2 separate regions of the Homo sapiens genome follow, and region 1 is linked to region 2. The links are contacts of gene promoters, found by promoter capture Hi-C in blood cells and fetal thymus (Javierre and others, 2016). All regions are on one chromosome and are shown on one strand. Each heading gives the region's core, a stretch centred on a gene start or on the middle of the fragment in contact. The rest is flanking DNA. Distances are from core to core; before and after follow the strand shown. Region 1 overlaps LOC105375794 (a long non-coding RNA gene). Region 2 holds the start of LY6D (lymphocyte antigen 6 family member D).

Region 1 (2,890 bases), core at 94-2,593, 140 kb before region 2:
TGCAAAAATATGGAAGTTCTTATTGCCTGTTTTATTGCGTAAAGTGGCTGAGGAAGTGTTCTGCCATGTTTTTATGCGTTTCTCAAACAAGTCCCCCTTAAAAATGTGAATAAATATCTTTAAAATAATTACAATATTTTTCCAGAATTGTATTTTTGAGATTTTGATCTTTTGGGATTTCAACATTTGGGATTATGGCATTTGGAGTTGTGTCTTCTGGGATTATGATAGGCAACCAGTCAGTACAGAAGCCAACACAGCCATCACCTGGGAGTGGGGGTGCATGCGGCAACCGCTTTCATCACCTTGGTGAAAAGATGGCTTGAGTTCTAAGGAGGAAAGGAGGTGAGGGTTAGGATACAAGCAAAGTTAGAAATTGGAATTGAATGGCTGGGCACTGTGGTTCACTCCTGTAATCCCAGCACTTTGGGAGGCTGAGGTGGATGGATTACAAAGTCAGGAGATGGAGACCATCCTGGGTAACATGGTGAAACCCCGTCTCTACTAAAAATACAAAGAAAAAAAAGAAAAGAAAAGAAAAGAAATTAGCCGGGCATGGTGGCACATGTCTGTAGTCCCAGCTATTTGGGAGGCTGAGGCAGGAGAATGGCTTGAACTTGGGAGGCGGAGGCTGCAGTGAGCTGAGATAGTGCCACTGCTCTCCAGCCTGGGCAACAGAGCAAGACTCTGTCTCTAAAAAAAAAAAAGAAAGAAAGAAACGAGTTGAAAGCCCCACATAAAGCCTTAACTTTCAAGACTACAACTTCAGTGAAAATGTGGTCCAGAAATATTCTATCTAACAGCATGGGAGATGAGAAGGAAGCTTGGCTCTTTAACCCTGGGAATGAGGAGTGAGAAATGTCCCCTCCTATGGATCAGGATGGAGGCCCTCAAATTGGTTTAGGATTTAGGTCACCCCACCTTTGATGAACCCCAAGCCGAGCCTTTAATACAAAAAGTGGCCCTGGGCAAGTGACAGTTTCTGGAAAACCAGAAAAGCAAACAGTAAGGCTCAGAAGGGAAAACACAGCTGCAAGCCAGGCCCACCTGCATGAAGACCAGGTCCAGGGTTCCTGATTTCCAGTCTTTTGAAGCCAATAGTATCTCTACATTTAAAGAAGTGAGAAGGCGTAAGGTGTGTGACTAACGAACAATCAAAATGAACTACCAGACTGTCCTGGAGGAATTTTAAAAGAGCTGATGAAACACTAAGAGTCAGAGGCACAGAGAATTCCCAGCAGGGTGAGGGAAAAGGAACTCTTCCACAGACTCCGAAGAGATCTCAATAACAAAGCTCTCCCTGTAGCCTCCAGGGCATCCCACACCCTGGGATGGCAGCGTGACGGCCGGCGTTCCAACGCCAGCTGCGGAAGCCAGAGACAGTGGCCAAGGGGTTGGCGCACACCCACCGCTGCAACAAAACACATGTGCACGATGGCTCCAATGGGAAAGAAGCCCCTCTCACAGACACTCGGAAGTGAGCATTCCTAATCAGGTCACCCTCCTTCCACCCGTCGTTCCGACACGTGGTATCTGAGGCTGCCAGGCCGAGATGGGGTAGGGCCAGGCCAGGGGAGGCACATGTGTCTTCTCCCCCGTTCCACTGGCCAAACTCAGACACAGGGGAGCACAGACTGCAAGGCAGGCTGGGAACGGAGCCCGTTCACCTGCCAGGGAAGAACAGGACGTGTGTGGAAGGGCAGTGAACATCGCCTGCCGCGTCTAACATCTTCAAAATGCTGAAATACAAGCACTGCCTACCTGGAAATGAACACTCAACACAACTATCTTTGAAGATTTAGATTAAAATAAGACATTTTTAGACCTAGAGACCTGAAAGAGATCTCTACCAACAGAAGCTTTTCCAAAGATGTTTTAAAGAATGACCTCCAGAAAGAATGGAATTCACCTAGCCCAAAATCTTCCAGTGTAGAGATGAATCTGAGCAAAGAAAACACGTGACTAAAAGGAGGCAAACGTGAACTCTGATCACAATGATAACATCCAGTTTATGTTGTTAAAAAACCAAAATAGAACTTTAATATTGGCCAATAACAGCATAACCGTCAAAAGAGGGTGACCAGAGTTAAAAAGCTCTAAAGTTTCTATGTTTGTTTATTTTTTTATGGGAAGATACTGAATAGTAATGTTATACTTTAAGTTACAAAATTTACTTTATATATTTATTTATTTTTGAGACAGGGTCTTGCTCTGTCACCCAGCCTGGAGGGTTGTGGCGATCATAGCTCACCGCAGCCTTAAGCTCCTGGGCTCAAGAGATCCTCCTGCCTCAGCCTCCTGAGTAGCTGGGACTACAGGCATGTGCCACCATGCCTGGCTAACAAAATTCACTTTAAAATGTCTAAGGTAACCATGAAAATAATGGAAATGGAGAATATGTCTTCCGAAGTAGGAGAGAAAAAGAGGGAACTTAAAAATGGATAACTTGGGATAAACCAAATGCAGAAAATAAAGTGAACATAATCCACATACATTAGTTATCACAAAAATACTAAGTGGATGGACTTTGAGAGTTAAAAGACAAAGATTGTCAAACTAAATAGAACAACACTAACAACAACACAATATCTCTATAGGATGTTTAAATAAGAAATATCTAAAACACAACTTACAGAAAGGTTGAAAGTCACAGAATGAAAAAAAAAAACCTCCAGGCAAATATTGACCGAAAGGAAACAACTGTGCCTCTGAGGCTGGCACTGGAGATATGTGAGTATTTTCAGTGGATCAGATGAGGGCCCCATGGAGAGAAAGTCAGCCTGGGTTCTTCTTGCAACCTGGTCAATAGGCTGCCCTCAGGGAGAGGGACTGGAGCACAGAAGGAGGAGACGGATGCAGGAGTCATCTGGCTTCTGGAGGATTCTCAAGG
Region 2 (2,827 bases), core at 308-2,807:
GCCAGGAGCATTCTCAGGAGACATTTGCTGGGATCCCCGGCATCTGAGACGTGGGGCTCAGCAAGGGAGAGATGCCGGGAGGAAGGGCCAGAGGGTCTGTCTCAAGCCCAGGCCTGACTGGCCCCAGTACCCACGGTGCTCCCAAAAGCCTCAGCCCAGCCCAGGACCACCCTCCTCGGAACCGGCCCTGCCCTGCCCTGGGCCTGTTGTTGTCTGTTCATCAGCCACGTGGCAGCGGCGGCAGGAGGCTGGGCCCAGGGCTGACCTCCATCTGTGCCCCGGCTCCCACTCACCTTCAGCCTAGCCAGGGCAGGGGCAAAGCAAGTCTGTGGGCCCCTCCACACCACTCAGGTGGGTGCTGCCCAGCACAGGCGAGCGGCAGAGCGTGCTGGGCTGAGCAGGTGGATGGGGGCCCCAAGAGGTGGGCTCCTGCGCGAGGCGGTGGGTGCTCAGAGACCCCGTCTCCAGGGAAAGAAAGTCCCTCCTGTGAGTATAAAGAGGGTGAAGGCGGGGACTGGCCTCCACTCAACGGGCAGCAGACCAAGAACCTGCTTTGAGGCCCTGGGTGCTGGGGCCCAGCCCCAAAGAGTTCACGATTTTGGGGAGACTGGAGCCGGGACACCTAGAGCAATAGTTACAAAGTGGCCGGGATGGCGCTGCCCCCAACGTAGCAGGAGGGGCCTGGAGAGTGGGGGAAGGAATCCCACGGGGAGGGCTTCTGGGGCCCTGGAGGGCGGGAGGCAGGGCTGGTGGAGACCAGGAGGGCTCAGTCTCTCCCTGCACAACGCAGGGTGGAGTTGCTGCCTCCACAGCCCGGGCCTTCTGCCCACAGGGCTCCCCAGGCAACTTCGAGGGCCGGGTCCTCACAGTCCTCACTCTGTCCAGTGCTCACCTCACTGCTGCCCCAGCTGCCCTCCCTGCCTCGGAGTGGCCTCTGCCTCTGCCTCTGCCTCACACACCCCATCAGCCCACAGCCACCCCGAGCCCTTGCAGCTCAAGGACCTTCTGCATCCCCGGCAGCAACCCTGAGCCCAGAGCCAGGAGAGTAGGACCAGCACCTGCCCTTCCTACCTCCCCTGCCCTGGACACCCACGGGCACCCACAGGGCACCGGGCACAGGCTGCAACTCTATTGAGGGAACTATGGGGGGAATGCAGGGACAAAGACACAGGATGGTGATGGATGGTGGGGGGTGGGGGGCGGGGGGTAGCGGGTGGCAGGTCAGAGACAAAGTGACCCAGGAACGGACGGCAGCGAGAGAACAAGACCCACAGAGACAGAGAAGTGAAAGTGGGAGAGATGGAGGCACAGCAGCAGGAACAGCAGGGCCAGGAGGCCACTGGGCCCCGTTGCGGAGGGCAGACCTCTGCCTGGCGGGGGGCAGCAGGGGCAGCGCCCAGCGACAGCCAGGCTGGTGGGCGTGGGCCAGGCAGGGTGGGGCAGGTGCCCGTCCTGGGCTGACGCTTGCACAGAGCCCTGCAGAATGCCGCTGGCTGGCGGACTGCCCACCCCCGCCCAGCCCGTGCCTATAAGGCCTTGGCAATGCAGGGGCCCGCACTGCTCCCAGACGACATCAGAGATGAGGACAGCATTGCTGCTCCTTGCAGCCCTGGCTGTGGCTACAGGGCCAGGTGAGGGGCTGGGCCAAGGGGACGGGCGGGTGGGCGGCTGTGGCCTGTGTGGTCACCAAATACTAGGAGCCTGGAGCTGACGACATCTAGGCACAGAGAACCCCGACACTGTGGGTGCTAGACTCTTCAAATTTAAAACAACATGGAGCCCGAATCTTAACGAGTGTCAGATTTACAATGTTTCAGAATCTGAGGATCTTAGAACTGACTCCTGGAGTCACGGACCCTGAGAGAGTGGAGCAGGGGGTTGTCTTGAGATGCTTCTCACTGGGAGAGCGGCCATCTAGTCCCTGCCACCAGCCCCTCCCGGTCCCCAGGTCTCCCCCAGCACAGCCCAGGACAGCCCAAAGGCCACCAAGCCCTTCCTGTCATAGGCTCAGAGCAGCCAAGCTGGCTGCCCCCGGGGCCTTAGCTCCGTCAGGCCCTCAGAAACATAGCCATCTCCTCCAGGGACATCCCCTGGGGTGGGGACAAGAGCCAGTGTCCTCTTGGCAGTCGCAGAGCTCCCTGAGACCTTGGAGGAAAGGCTTGCAACACACCCTAGACAGGGGCAGGGCAGGACACCTCTTCCAAGCCGGCCCAGGCTGGAATACATGTCCCCTGAGGCTGCACTCAGGGCACATGCCCTGCCAGGACCCAGAGCCCGGGTTTGGGGGCCTAGGGCAAGGGCAGCAGGGCCTCTGTCCAGGAGGGGTCTCTGCAGGTGGGGGAGCAGGCCCTGCTGAGTCACCAGGAGGCCTCTGTTGGGCCCGCTGAGCCGGACTCCCTCCCCGCCAGCCCTTACCCTGCGCTGCCACGTGTGCACCAGCTCCAGCAACTGCAAGCATTCTGTGGTCTGCCCGGCCAGCTCTCGCTTCTGCAAGACCACGAACACAGGTGGGTAGCATCTGTCCAGGTGTCCCTGGGGCTGGGGGACATCCCTGGCTGTTGTGGGTGTTGGCTGGAAGGTTGTGGGGAGGTGGGGGGCAGAGGTGGCTGCCTGGCCTGACCACACTCACCTGTGCCCAGTGGAGCCTCTGAGGGGGAATCTGGTGAAGAAGGACTGTGCGGAGTCGTGCACACCCAGCTACACCCTGCAAGGCCAGGTCAGCAGCGGCACCAGCTCCACCCAGTGCTGCCAGGAGGACCTGTGCAATGAGAAGCTGCACAACGCTGCACCCACCCGCACCGCCCTCGCCCACAGTGCCCTCAGCCTG

Evidence for each region. Contacts are between HindIII fragments. The CHiCAGO score rates a contact against its expected background, and 5 or more counts as called.
Region 1: a fragment that was not itself captured here is called in contact with the fragment with the promoter of LY6D in region 2 in 1 of 17 cell types (naive CD8 T cells); the score reaches 5.6 in naive CD8 T cells.

What each region holds. Positions count from the first base shown.
Region 1 is chr8:142,926,870-142,929,759 of GRCh38, reverse strand. LOC105375794 (a long non-coding RNA gene) reads right to left here. Exons shown (of 2, transcript XR_928730.1): 2 at 2,587-2,890. Among named protein-coding and RNA genes, the nearest start is that of CYP11B2, 10 kb to the right of the region's middle. The HindIII fragment of the contact is 1,036 bases long and covers 826-1,861 here.
Region 2 is chr8:142,785,269-142,788,095 of GRCh38, reverse strand. LY6D (lymphocyte antigen 6 family member D) reads left to right here and starts at 1,557. Exons shown (of 3, transcript NM_003695.3): 1 at 1,557-1,631; 2 at 2,409-2,507; 3 at 2,640-2,827. The coding sequence starts at 1,580. The HindIII fragment of the contact is 15,715 bases long and covers 1-2,827 here.